4 separate regions of the Homo sapiens genome follow, and all the other regions are linked to region 1. The links are contacts of gene promoters, found by promoter capture Hi-C in human tissues and cell types (Jung and others, 2019). All regions are on one chromosome and are shown on one strand. The core of a region is centred on a gene start or on the middle of the fragment in contact, and the rest is flanking DNA. Distances in the headings are between cores, read along the strand shown. Region 1 holds the start of PLK5 (polo like kinase 5 (inactive)). Region 2 holds the start of EFNA2 (ephrin A2). Region 3 has its middle 20 kb from the start of ONECUT3. Region 4 has its middle 46 kb from the start of TCF3.

The links. The method cuts DNA at HindIII sites, captures the fragments that hold promoters and counts their contacts. A contact is called where the count stands out against the background at its distance.
Region 2: a contact is called between the fragment with the promoter of EFNA2 here and the fragment with the promoter of PLK5 in region 1, in 5 of the 25 tissues and cell types used here (dorsolateral prefrontal cortex, liver, lymphoblastoid cells and 2 more).
Region 3: a contact is called between a fragment that was not itself captured here and the fragment with the promoter of PLK5 in region 1, in 2 of the 25 tissues and cell types used here (lymphoblastoid cells and psoas muscle).
Region 4: a contact is called between a fragment that was not itself captured here and the fragment with the promoter of PLK5 in region 1, in 1 of the 25 tissues and cell types used here (lymphoblastoid cells).

The regions. Positions count from the first base shown.
Region 1 is chr19:1,521,998-1,525,326 of GRCh38, forward strand. It overlaps PLK5 (polo like kinase 5 (inactive)), which reads left to right and starts at 2,080. Exons shown (of 14, transcript NM_001243079.2): 1 at 2,080-2,249; 2 at 3,308-3,329. It overlaps LOC107985337 (a long non-coding RNA gene), which reads left to right. Exons shown (of 3, transcript XR_001753835.2): 3 at 1-480. The HindIII fragment of the contact is 15,366 bases long and covers 1-3,329 here.
Region 2 is chr19:1,284,286-1,287,614 of GRCh38, forward strand. It overlaps EFNA2 (ephrin A2), which reads left to right and starts at 1,588. Exons shown (of 4, transcript NM_001405.4): 1 at 1,588-2,023. The coding sequence starts at 1,884. RefSeq lists enhancers at 672-1,172, 1,173-1,673. The HindIII fragment of the contact is 32,397 bases long and covers 1-3,329 here.
Region 3 is chr19:1,731,764-1,735,092 of GRCh38, forward strand. No RefSeq gene overlaps it. Among named protein-coding and RNA genes, the nearest start is that of ONECUT3, 20 kb to the right of the region's middle. The HindIII fragment of the contact is 7,385 bases long and covers 1-3,329 here.
Region 4 is chr19:1,697,266-1,700,594 of GRCh38, forward strand. No RefSeq gene overlaps it. Among named protein-coding and RNA genes, the nearest start is that of TCF3, 46 kb to the left of the region's middle. The HindIII fragment of the contact is 4,391 bases long and covers 1-3,329 here.

The DNA of each region.
Region 1 (3,329 bases), core at 830-3,329:
GCAGTCCGCGGTGATCCTGGGCTGGCACCGGACGTTCGGAGCCTCAGTTTCCTCATCTGTAACACAGGGCTAAGAACAGCACCTGCCTCAGGGACAAGTTACTGCCCAGAACGGGCCTGGCTCACTTCCTTCCACCTCCAAAGCTTTCCTTGACCCCTGACTTGGTGAAGTCTTGGACGTTCTTGCAGTCCGTTAAGCAGTGGTCCTTTTACGAGGACAGGGCTGGGTCTGCCTTGGGCTCGCACAGCCTGACACAGGCCCATATGCAGTAAGTGCTTAACAAATGCCTGAACTGATGCCAGGATGGACTGGTGCTATCAGGAAGGAACCGGAAGCCAGGCCTGGTGGCTCACGCCTGTCATCCCAGCATTTTGGGAGGCCGAGGCAGGCGGGTCATTTGAGGTCAGGAGTTTGAGACCAGCCTGACCAACATGGTGAAACCCGTCTCTACTAAAAATACAAATAAATAAATACATCAGCTGGGTGTGGTGGTGCATACCTGTAGTCCCAGCTACTTGGGAGGCTGAGGCAGGAGAATTGCTTGAACTCGGGAGATGGAGGTTGCAGTGAGCCAAGATCACACCACGGCACTCCAGCCCGGGTGACAGAGCAAGACTCTCTTTCAAAAAAACAAACAAACAAAAAAAAAAGCAAGGAACTGGCTTTCTGCCCCTGGAGGATTCCAGGGTGACAGTCGTGTGACAGCTCAGACACTCGGGCCCCGAGCAGCCCACCTTGCAGCCACCTCACCTGATTCTCATCAGCAGGGGACTTGGGCTCCCCAGCTGCAACCCGGTGGCCCCAGGCTGGCCAGGAATCTTCCGCCCTGGCCCTGGGACCAGAAACCCCGCAAAGGTGCCCGAGCTCAGCCCCGTCCAATGCACGGGGGCCCCATTCGTGACACCAGGTGGACACGTGACGGCTCAGAAGGTGTTTCCTGTCCCTAGTGGTGTGGCCGGGCCAGATTCCGAAATCTGGTCCCTGGAAAATTCCAGCCCCACGGAGCCTGGTAACCCCTCCCCATTCCTGGTGTTATGTAACATTTGGGGATTAATACCGCAGGCGTCCAGGGGCGGCTGCCGGGATTCAAACCCAGCGCTGCCCTTTCCTGGGCTGACTGAGCGACTTTGCGTCCCTGGGTCTCAATGTCTTGCCTGTACAATGGGGACAAGGCCCGTTTTTGTGTCCCAGGCTGGGTGGAAGGGTGAGGGAAGACCTCACCAGGAAAGGGGTGCACCTGAGTCTGGGGCAGGGCTTGGAGCAACCACCCCCACGATTCCGGGGGAGTCTCAAGCCCCCCACTGTCTTCCCACCCAGCTGTTCTCTGAGTTCTCTGAGGTTTCTGATGCTCTCTGAGGTCGCCATTTCAAGGACGTCCCCACCTGGCTGTCCGTGCAAACCCCAGCCAGGGTCCACCTGCTGCTCCACACAGCCCATCCCTTCTCCGGGCTGAAGCTCCCTCATATGGGACATCCACTACACTGTAGGACCCCAGCCCATGCGTCCCCAAGCCCCGGTCCTGCCTCCTGGGTCCCTGTCCCAGGCCTCACCGCCCTCCCCACCAGCCCCAGCATCACAAACGCTGGGCTTCTCTGCCGCTCCGAATTCTGCTGTGGCTCCCCAGTGCCCAGGGCCATCAAGCCCCAGGTTTTCATGTGGGCCCCAGGGACCCGCCAGCAGGGAGGACCCGAAATGGCACACATTCAGAACGTCGAGGCTCATACCTCAAGCGCACTGTGGGGGAGAAGCCCCCGGAAGCCCCCAACCCCCCACGCGCGAGAGAGCCTCAGTTTCCCGCTCGGTAAAGCGGGCGTATCAGCGGTTCCCAGCCAGCCCGGGTGTGCAGGGTCGGAGGAGCTCGCGGGCTGAGCGCGGCCCCTGGCGCCCGGTTGGCGTGCGGGACTCGGGCGCGCTCTGGTCCGTGGAACTTCCCCAGCCGCGGCGTCCCCGCCGCTCACGCGCCCCCCACTCCACGGCCGGGCACCTCCCGCCCCTCCCCGGGCTGGACCTGCGCCCGGGCTCCGCCCCCTCCCCGCCCCCGCGGCCAATAAAACGCTCCCCGGCGGCTCCTGCGCCCTCAGAGCGGCCCCGGAGCGGCCGCAGCGCGGTGGTCTCGGCCCGGCTGCGCCAGAGTCCGCGCGATGGAGCCCCGGCCGCGGCGGCGGCGCAGGAGTCGCCCCCTGGTCGCCGCCTTCCTGCGAGACCCGGGCTCGGGCCGCGTGTACAGGCGCGGGAAGCTGATCGGCAAGGTGGGAGGCCCGCGCCCCGAGTCCGCGACGGGGCCGGACCGGGCTGGGCTGGGGTCCCGGGGCGCGCGGGCGATCCTGCGCGGTCTACGCGGCGCGTCCCTGCGAGCGCGGGGTCTGGAGCGGGCGCGCGTCCGGAGCCGCGGGGCCTCCCGTGCGGGGTTTCGCATGGCGGGAACCGTGTTGAGCGCGCTGTGCGTCGTGTCCGTGGGTTGCGTGTCCGGGGTGTGGGCGTGCGGCTCGGCCTCGGGATGCGACGCTGTGTTGCCCCTGGGTGTGTGTGCGAGCCTGGCGAGGGTCTGAGTGTGCCGCGTCTGTGCCCGCTGCTTCCAAGTGTCTGGGTGCTGTGCGGTGTTCGTGTGTGTGTGTGTGTGTGTGTGTGTGTGTGTCTGGGTGTTGTGTTGCTTGTTCACCTGTTGTTTGTGCGTCATGCCTTTGTGTGTCCAGTCATTGTGTTGTGTGTCTGGGTGTTGTGTGTTCATGTGGTGTGCTTGTGTGTTTGTGTGTTCATATGTGGTGTGTCTAGGAGTTGTGTGTTCATGTGTTTGTATCTGTGTCTTTGTCCATGTGTTGTACTGTGTGTCCAGGTGTTGTGTGTTCATGTGTTTGTGTGTTCCTGTGCTGTGTCTGGGTATTGTGTTGTGTGTCCACACGTGGTGACTGTGTGTCCAGACATTGTATATTCATGTGTTTGTGTGTTGCTGCGTTGTGTATCTGGGTGTTGTGTTGTGTGTCCATGCATGGTGACTCTGTGTCTGGGCGTTGCGTGTTTGTGTGTCGTATTCAGGCGTGGTGTTGTGCATCCGGTGCTGTCTTCTGGTCCGTGGCCTCTATGCACCAGGCGTGGATGTGTCTGTGTCTGTGTCTCTGTGCCTTCTTGTGTGCATCATGTCTTGTGTGTCCAGGCGGGAGGGTGGGAGCTGTGTGTTGTTTTTTCCCCGGTGTGTGTGTGGAGAGACCTGGACGCGCCTGCGTCCCTGGCTGCCCTGTGCCTCTGTACGCGCTGCCAGCTTGCACACCCGTGCACACCTGCCCACTGATCTGCTGACCCCTCCCCACAGGGCGCCTTCAGCCGCTGCTACA
Region 2 (3,329 bases), core at 338-2,837, 240 kb before region 1:
TCAGCCACCACCTGGGACAGGTTCACGCCCTCCACTGAAGAGACACCCGGCCAGCCCTGGGCCTTCGACCTGGGACGTCTGTAGTGGGGTCAGGGGATGAGACCTGGAGCTCAGAACAGACGGGCTGAGCTCCCTGGAGGAGAGAGAACTGAGAACCTTGTCCTGGCAGGGACGCTAGAGCACTGGGTGGGACAGACCTTTCTGGAAGAGCAAGATTTTAACAGGAAGAAAAAGTGGAAGGACTTCCCAGCAGGACCCAGCCTGAACAAAGGTCAGGTGGTGTGGCCCGCGTGGCCCGCTGGGGAATCGGGGGAGGAGGGCACGCAGGAGACACAGGACAGAGCCCACCACGTCTCAGAGCTGTGGGACGGTGGTGGGTCCGGTCCCCACCCCACCTTGCTGGGGCACAGGTTAGCTTGCCCATCTCTGGGTTCACGGTCCCTGCCAGGAGTTTGGGTAATGCCTCACACAGGGACCTTCGGGTCCAAGGGCTGTTGGTGCTTGCCCTGCAGTTCCCTCTCCTGCACTGGGCCTGGTGAATGACACTAATTCAGAGACGTACAACACGATCTGGGCATCGCCAGCAAAGTCCAGCCAGCGTTTGATGACAGCCTACCCTCCACAAGCTCAGAGTCTGGTGAGGGAGGCTGTGGCATGAATAAGGGCAAAAACAGAGGGCAGGCCAGGTGCAGTGGCTCACGCCTGTAATCCTAGCACTTTGGGAAGCCCAGGTGGGAAGATCGCCTGAGCCCAGGAGTTCAAGACCAGCGTGGCCAACATGGCCAGACACTGTCTCTATAGATTGGAAAAAAGACAAAGCAGAGGCCAGGCCCCCAGTTCCCCACCTGTGTCAGCCTACCAGGAGGAGAAATCACTCGGCGTTCCCTGAACAGATCAGACCCCGGGTCTTTGCACAAGCTGTGCCCCCGGGCAGCGGCCCTCCCCTGCCTGCAGGATTCGTGCGTGGAGACTGATTTGCTGTCGGCCGGGGCTTCACTCTGGGCTTCTTGGATCCCATCCCCAGCTGCTCACACTCCACATCGGTCCACCTACTATGCTCCCGGCACCCTTAGGGCTGAGGTGTAGGGACTTACTCCATCCCCAGGGAACAGCGTGGGTCCGGAGAGGCGACTCCCAGGAGGGCCCCAGGGAGGTCGCAGCCCGAGCAGCTTTGGACTTTGGCCAGCGCCCCTCTGAAACTCTGCCCCGGCCCCCGCAGGGAGACTGGAGTTGGCCGAGCCCGATTTGGGACGCGTGCGTCGGGGTTGGTGAGGCTGCGGATAGCGCTGGAACCGGGCAGGTGAGAGGCCCGGGACCCAGGGCCGGGCCGGGTGGAGCGCGTGGGGGCGCGGGAGGCAGGGTGCGCCCCCGCCCCTCGGAGACCCCAGGCCGGGCCACGCGGATGCCGGCGGGGGGCGCGCAGAATCGGGGTCGCTGGGGGCAGGCCCCGGGGGACGAGCCTGAGACGGGGTGGGCCGGGGCAGGGGGCGGGCGCAGGCTGGAGACCCCCGCCCAGTCCCCGCGCGGCCGGGGCACGGCGGGAGGGGGCGCCCGCGGCCCTCCCGACGCTCGGGCGGGACAAAGGCCGGAGCCCGGGCCCCTCCCCGGCGGGTGCGGCGGCGGCGGCCCGCGCTCCGACAGTCCGCGCGGCCGGGTCCTGCGCCCGGGGCGACCCCGGCGCCCCGCCCCGCCGCCGCCTGACTTCTCGGCGCCCGAGGTCGCGCGCGCGGAGGCGGGGGCGGCCCGGGATCTCCAAGCGCCGCCGCGCCCTCCTCCCGCCCGCCCTCCGCCCGCCCGCTCGGCGGCGGCGGCGGCGGCGGAGGAGGCGGAGAAGGCTGGCAGGCGGCGGCCGGGAGAGCGAGCGCGGCGGCCGGACCGGGGCCATGGCGCCCGCGCAGCGCCCGCTGCTCCCGCTGCTGCTCCTGCTGTTACCGCTGCCGCCGCCGCCCTTCGCGCGCGCCGAGGACGCCGCCCGCGCCAACTCGGACCGCTACGCCGTCTACTGGAACCGCAGCAACCCCAGGTGAGCGCGGCCGCGCGCGGGGGGCGCCCGGGGACCCCCCAACGCCCCCCAAGCCGCGCCCGGCCTCGCGCCCCCGGAGCTCCGGGCGCCCCCCACGCGCGCGCCGCCGCCGGGATGCGGGCGCCCGGTTCCCGCGGGAGCCCCCCAGGGAGCTCCGGCCCCCCGGAGTTTGGGGGACTCGCCCTTTTCGCGCCTGCCTTCCCCGGGGCGCCCCATTGCCCTACGGACTGTGGGGACTCGCGCCCCACATCCCCCAGAGCGCCGACGTCTCCTGGAGTTTGGGGAACCCCTCTGGTACCCTCCGATGCCGGGTAGCCCCTGAGTTGCCTGCCTGGACTTGGGGGGACCCCTGATCCACCCGCTTCTCTGGGGAGCCCCCTCGGTTTCGCATTTGGTGGGGATCCCCGGGGACCTTGGCACCGGAGGTGGGGGACTGTGGCCCTCGAGGGATCTCTGGGTTCGTCCTGCCCGCAGGTCCCCAGATGAACTTGGGGAAGTTGGAGTGTCCCTCCCTCAGGACCCAGCATCTGCTTCACTCCAGGGGGCCAAGGGCCCAGCTTTGAAAGGAGACTGAGGGGCCGGGGAGCTGGGGGTCAGCCCCGGGAGGGGCAGTGGGATGGAGTCCTCTCTTGTCCTCTGGGCGCTGACCAGGAAACTGAGGTGCAGAGGGGATGAGGAGCTGGCTCAAGGTCATGCAAGGGGGGGACTTGGGGGCAGGACCCAGGTGGCCCAGTGCCCTGCCTGCCACGCCCGGCCGAGATGCCGCACCCGCCTGCTGCAGGCCCCCTTGTTTTGAACCAGGTCCGGGCCAGGCACAACGTGGGGGACAGGAGAAGCCCCCGTTGGTCAGAGCAAAAAAAGTTTGCCGGGGCCTGGCCATGGCCTGGACGTGGGTAGAACCCTCTGAACCATCCCAGGGTCTCCAAGACAGGAGCAGGCTGCAGCTTCCCTGGGGGTCCCGTGGGAGCCGGGGCTTTGGGGGTCCTGGGGCTCGGGAGGGAGTCAGCCCCAGCACTCAGGGTGTCACCGTCTTCCTAAGGCACACGGAGCTGCACATCGGGGGCTGAGGCGGCCCCCCCCCACTCTTCTGCTACTGGTCACTTTCTCTCCGTTTTCCAGCCGCTTCCTGTGCCGACCGAGCCGCCCTCTGGAGCCCGCCACCCCTCCTTGTCCCCTCTGTCTCCTGCTGTCCTCGGTCCCCGGGAGGAAAGTTGCATGAAGGGGTCTCTTTGAGGCGGGCTCGGGGACAAGGGCGGCCCGTGTTCCGCCGTGGGGGTGGGGAACACGCACAGGCCCACCCCCCACC
Region 3 (3,329 bases), core at 365-2,864, 210 kb after region 1:
TGGGCTGTGGTGTATTCAGACAGAGGAGGATCATTCAGTGCTGGAGGAATGGCATGTCCAGCCTTGGAAAATATGGAAAGGAGGGTAGGAGTGGGGAGGGATGAAAAACTACCCACCGAAGCTGGGCGCGGTGGCTCACACCTGTGATCCCAGCACTTTCGGTGGCCAAGGTGGGAGGATCACCTGAGGCCAGGAGCTCCAGACCAGCCTGGCCAACAAGGTGAAAGCCCGTCTCTACTAAAAATATAAAAATTAGCCGGGCGTGGTGGCGGGCGCCTGTAATCCCAGCTACTCGGGAGTCTGAGGCAGGAGAATCGCTTGAACCCCAGAGGCGGAGGTTGCAGTGAGCCGAGATTGCACCACTGCACTCCAGCCTGGGTGACAGAGGGACATTTGTCTTTAAAAAAAAACAAAAAAAAAAGCTACATGCTGAACAGTGAGTAGAGACTGGTCACATTAAGTCAGAGTATGTCTCTAAGTATATACAGATACTTTTTTTTTTTTTTCCCCTTGAGACAGAGTCTTGCTCTGTCACCCAGGCTGGAGTGCAGTGGCGCGATCTCGGCTCACTGTAACCTCCGCCTTCTGGGTTCAAGCGATTCTCCTGTCTCAGCCTCCCGAGTAGCTGGGATTACAGGTGTCCACCACCACGCCCGGCTAATTTTTGTATTTTTAGTAGAGATGGGGTTTCACCGTGTTGGCGAGGCTGGTCTTGAACTCCTGACCTCAGATGATCCACCTGCCAGGCCCTCCCAAAGTGCAAGGATTACAGGCGTGAGCCACCGTGCCCGGCCACGGATACTCTTCATGGTGTGTATCATGAGGCCCTAGGACAGATAATGAAGGCTTCCACGTCCAAGGGCACAGGGTGGCACGGGAAGGGTTGAGGTGGGCATTTATTTTTTTGCTGTTTCCATGTAAGTTTTGTTTCTCCCACGTATATATGTATATTACTTGCTCAAAAACAGATTGCAAATGTGACAAAAATTACAGATACCTATTTTGTAGTTCAGCTTTTCTGAGGTTCGCAGGACAGGGGACGCCCCTCCCACAGCCCAGCTCCTCTGCAGATGGCTCTGATCTGACTTCCCCAGGGACCCAGGGCTTTTCTCCCGTGATCCCTGCTCCTGGCCTCCAGTTCCCGAAACTCACCAGCTCTGAGCAGGTAGGAAAAAGTGGCTTGTGTCTACAGAGCCCAGTTCTTCTATAAAGTGAAAACAGGCAGCATCGACAAGCATAACCGCCGGGCACGGTGGCTCACGCCTGTAATCCCAGCACTTTGGGAGGCCGAGGTGGGTGGATCACCTAAGATCAGGAGTTCGAGACCAGCCTGACCAACATGGAGAAACCCCGTCTCTACTAAAAATACAAAATTAGCCAGGCATGCTGGCTCATGCCTGTAATCTCAGCTACTCAGGAGGCTGAGGCAGGAGAATCGCTTGAACCTGGGAGGCGGAGGTTGCTGTGAGCTGAGATCGTGTCATTTGCACTCCAGCCTGGGTAACAACAGTGAAACTCCGTCTCAAAAAAAAAAAAAAATCCACTCCAGGCTGGACATGGTGGAGGGCACCTGTAGTCCCAGCTACTCGGGAGGCCGAGGCAGGAGGATCTCTTGAACCCAGGAGGTCGAGGCTGCAGTGAGCCAATTCTCCTGTCTCAGCCTCCCTAGTAGCTGGGATTACAGGTGCCCTCCACCACTACACTCCACCCTGGACAACAGAGTGAGACCCTGCCTCAAAAAACAAAAAAAACAAAACAAATAAAAAAACAATGCAGTCCTACCCCTTGCCTGGCTGCCCCTGACTCTTAAGGGAATGATGACACCTCCCCGCCAGGCCCACAGACGCTGCCGACCCAGCCCCTCCTCACCTCAATGCTCTCCTAACCCCCAAGCCTTTGCCTGCTTTTCCTACTTCTCTTCACTGAATGAACTCCTGCACCTCCTACGCCTTTCGGGGCAACGGTGCCCTTCTCAACTCAGGCTCCCAGACCCGCTGTCAGCCATGGTTTAAAGTCTGCCACTGGCCGGGCACAGTGGCTCATGCCTGTAATCCCAGCACTTTGGGAGGTCAAGGTGGAGGACCACTTGAGGCCAGGAGTTCAAGACCAGCCCGGGCAATATAAAATTCGCTGAGCATGGCGGTGCAAGCCTGTAGTCCCAGCTACTCAGGAGCTGAGTGGGGAGGATGGCTTGAGCCCAGGAGTTCGAGGCTGCAGTAAGCTATGATTGCACCACTGCACTCCAGCCTGGGTAACAGAGCAAGACCCTGTCTCTAAAAAAATAAAGTCAGCCACCACCCTCACACTGTGAGCCTCTCCCATCACCACAGGGCCTTCCATGGCCAGCTCCAGGCCTGGCATCAGCGGGTGCAGGAAAAGCTCAGTGGAGCGATTCCACATCTAGGGCTCGGCTTGTAAAATTAAAATAAGTGGAGACCCCCCCACAACCCCCAGCCACACGCAGGCAGTAGGAACCCGGGAGATGGGACGAGCGCCGAAGGGTTATTAGCAGATGCCTCGAGCCCCCTCGAGCCCCGCAGAGTGGGGGAGGATGGCGGAGGCCCTTTTAAGGACCCAGTATCACCGTCCTTTCTCGGCCAGCCGGGCACCCACCCACCTGAGTGAGCCTGGAGCAGCCCATTAAGCGATTTTTTTCCTCCACTTACGGTTGGCAGCATCGACAAGCATGCTCGATATCTGACGAGGTGCTGGCCTTGGAAGAGAGCGAGCCGCCTCGATAAACTATTCCCTCTTGTCAGCGCCTCCTCCCGCACCCAGCCCGGAGCTTCGCGTTTGATCCCCTCCCCTAATGAGCTCGGTTTTCTCCCCTCCAGGCGGATGAGACGCTCCCCCCACCCTCGCCCGCTCAGCCTTTCAAGTTCAGCTGGGCTGAGATTCAAGGTGGGGGCGGCGGTGGTGGAAGGAAAACCATTTCCAGGTTCCGATGGGGTCACCTCCCCCAGGAAGTCCTCCCAGAATTTCTGCAGCTCAGATGGTCTCGTGCATTTGTGGGGAGGGTCTGGGGTACAGAAAGAGACTGGGACCTAGATATGGGGGGTCGTACAGCAGTGTCCAGGTGCCACGATTGTCATCTGTCCATTCATTCAACAAAGGGTTTGGGGGTGCAGAGCTGGGCACAGGTGCTCCCAGCTGAGGACTGTGCCAACGTGAGGGGCTGGGCAGGATGGGGCAGGGGCCCAGGAGGCGGCAGAGCAGCAGAGACCCTCAAGAGGGGACGATGACAGCCTGATGAACGGACACAGAGTTGGCCAAACCGGGCTTGGTCAGCCTGCCTGGAGGTGGGGGAGAGAGTCTGAACCCCACCCGGG
Region 4 (3,329 bases), core at 256-2,755, 170 kb after region 1:
GAGAAGGTGAGGGCTGCTGGAACATGGCAGAGCGGGCGTATTCCAGGGAGACTTGGGTGAGACTCGAGGATGCTGGAGAAGGTAACCATCGGGGTGGGGTGCGAAGGAGGGCAGCAACTCTCCTGGGAGATGGGATGGATGGTGGGGCCGTGGGTGAGATGGGGTCATGCAGAGAGGACAGACCAAGGCCCCAGTGGACCCTGGGGGACCCTGTGGCTGTCTTCAGAGCAGCCCCCGAGGTATCAGTGCTCACAGCAACTTGCGGATACAGCCTAGAAGGCCCCATGCCTCAAAAATTCTTAGAGTCTGAGGAGCTCAAGAGGCTCACATCAGCTTCGGGAAGCTCTGTAGGGCGGCCACCAAGCTGGACTGAGGGATGGGCGGAAGCAGCTAAGGCCTAAATTGGTGGAGGTTGGCCGGACACAGTGGCTCATGCCTGTAATCCCAGCACTTTGGGAGGCCGAGGCGAGGATTGCTTGAACTCAGGAGTTCGAGATCAGCCTGGGCAACATAGTGAGACCACCCCCCACCCCCGCCAACTTATACAAAAATTTCAAAAATTCAGGCCGGCACGGTGCTCATGCCGGTAATCCCAGCACTTTGGGAGGTTGAGGTTGGTGGATCACCTGAGGTCAGGAGTTCAAGACCAGCCTGACCAACATGGTAAAACCTTGTCTCTACTAAAGATACAAAATTAGCTGGGCCTGATAGCTCATGCCTGTAATCTCAGCTGCTTGGGAGGCTGAAGCAAGAGAATCGCTTCCACCCAGCAGATGGAGGTTGCAGTGAGCCGAGATCGTGTCATTGCACTCCAGCCTGGGCAACAAGAGTGAAACTCCGTCTCAAAAAACAAAACAAAGCAAACAAAAAAATTCAAAAATTAGCCGAGTGTGGTGATGCACACCTGTAGTCCCAACTACTTTGGAGGCTGAGGTGGGAGGATCGTTTGAGTCCAGGAGGTTGAGGCTGCAGTCAGCTATGATTGCGCCACCGCACTCCAGCCTGGGTGACAGAGCGAGACCCTGTCTCAAGAAATAAGAAGAGAAGGAAGTTGGTGGAGGACATTCCACGCCAAGGAGCCCATGAGCCCCGGCTGGTGGTGCACGTGGAGCATTTGAAGTCACCACCAGTGACCCGGCCCAGGTGCCTCTGCAGTGGGACGGGAGGCCGGCTTTGGTCCAGCTCAGACAGAGCTTCAGATGCCCATCAAGGGATGGGGGGCTTTGTTGGGAACCCCATGGTGCCCCCTGGGCCTGCACATGTCGCCCCAGTCCCAAATATGCTCCCACCTCTGGGGCCAGGCCACTGAACGCCCTTCAGGACACTGTCCAGGGGCCAGAGTCACCATCTGCTGACCCGGCACCCAAATCTTCCGCCTCAGACCCTCCTGGCCCTCCGGTTCTCCCTCTGGCTGGCCCTCAGCCCTCCCTGGCACGGACCACGTCTTCCGAGGATGCCCCGGAAGATGCACCGTGGATAAGGCCATGCGATCAATAGGTCCATCGGCCGCCGGGGGGGCGGAAGCGCGGCTCATCAGGGCGCCTGCTGTCCCCTCCCCACCCTCCAGGAAGGCGGATAAGGCCCGGGGACCCTCTTAAGGGACGCCTGGCACCCGCCCGCCGCCCGGCACTCCTATCTCCCATGGAAGGACCCAGTTCCTGAATTGCCCCATGGGCCGCGCCGCAGGCCTGCACCGAAGCTCTTAATAGCCTGGGCCTAATGTTTTATTGTTGGTTTTAAAAGTGTAATTAGTTCAAGTGTAAACAGAAAAAACCTGCTTAATTAAGAATTTTTAAACAGGGGCATAAAGCGGGAGCGGGAGCATTGACGAACCCCAAGCTGCTTCATAACATCGATCGGAAGAGGCTCCGAGTGGAGGGCCGGGCGGGGCGGGCGCCGCGGGGGCCTGGGAGCCTCCCCTGGATGCCATTTGCCGCCCGGGTGAGGGCCCCGGGGACCTGCTGGTTTACGATCGGGGTCTCGGGACCGGTGCCTAATGATTTTTATGCATTAATGGAGATGACAGTTGGCCAAGCAGGCTGTTTAAGAAGCCTTTATGGGGGGCTGGGAGCCCAGTCCTGTGACCCTGGGCTGTCTCGGGGGTGAGAACCCCCGCTGGGAGGGAGGCCCTGGCGCTCCCACCCTCCTGGGGCCGGCTTGCTGGGCGGGGTCCGGGTGTTGCCCCCTCTCCAAGTGGCACCCACCGAGGGAGTCTCAGCATCACCGTGTCACCTCCCGGCCGATCCGGCCTGTCTCGGAGTCAGGACTTGAATTTCCTTCGAACTGCAAGGGGCTCTGCCTTCTACAGAGCCGGGGCGGGGCGGCCCTGACAGTGGGGCTGGGGGCGTGGGCTGTGCCATGTGCCTGGCATGGGGCCTCATGCCGGAATGAACCAGAGCCCAGGGTATGCTCAGCCTGGCCCCGGCCGCTGGGGAGGGGAGGGTGGGGCCCTGACCCTTCACCAGGAGGTGGGGAAGACCCCAGGCGGGGCTTAGGGGCACCCTGGGTTTGGAGATTTGGCTGCTCTAAACGTAGAGAGCCTGGTGGCCCTTGGCACCCATGACCCTGGAGAGCAAGGCCTGGGGGTCTTGGGGGGCCACAGGCGAGCCCAGGCAGGGGCTCTGCTCCAGCCTCAGTGCCCTGGTCTGTGGCAGGTCTGGGGGTTCCTGCCCTTGTGAGCCCCCAAGGATGCATACACGGAGGGGGGCTCAGAAGGCACCAGCACGTGGAAGCTGGTGGGGTCCTGCTCTCCGCCTGAGCCTCACAGAGCCGGGGGGTTGCTGGTCCCGGTCACTTCCCACCCCCATACCGACCCCTATGTGGAGATGGGGGACAGGAGCTGGCCTGGACTTTGGTCCTTGCCTTCCAGGAGGAGCCCAGGCTCTGGAGTTACTGTGACCGCCTCCCTTGTGGCCGAGACGCGGCCCCATTTGACAGGCGTGGCCACCAAGGCTGGCCCAGGCCCCATGGGGACCCAGGTGTCGGATCCGACTGTGCCCGGCTTCAAGGCTCCAGCCTGGACCTGGCAGGGAGCCAGAGAGGGCCCAGGCTTGAGGCCCCAGATGGATGCTCTGTTTCCAGAACAAAGAGGTGTCAAGACCCACTGTGTGCTGGGGGTCCCACCCCCGGCCCTGGAACCTGGGGCAGGAAGGATACTCCATGCACACCTTTCAGGGGGTCAGAGGCTGAGACGGTGCCTGGGGCAGACCCGTGGGTTGGGGTGGGGGTGCCCAGATCTTGACCCCCATCCGTATTCCCAAGGGGCAGAGATGGGACGTGACTCCTCCTGGCCCCCGCCGCCGGCCCGCAGGTGTTGGGGTCTCTGGGCT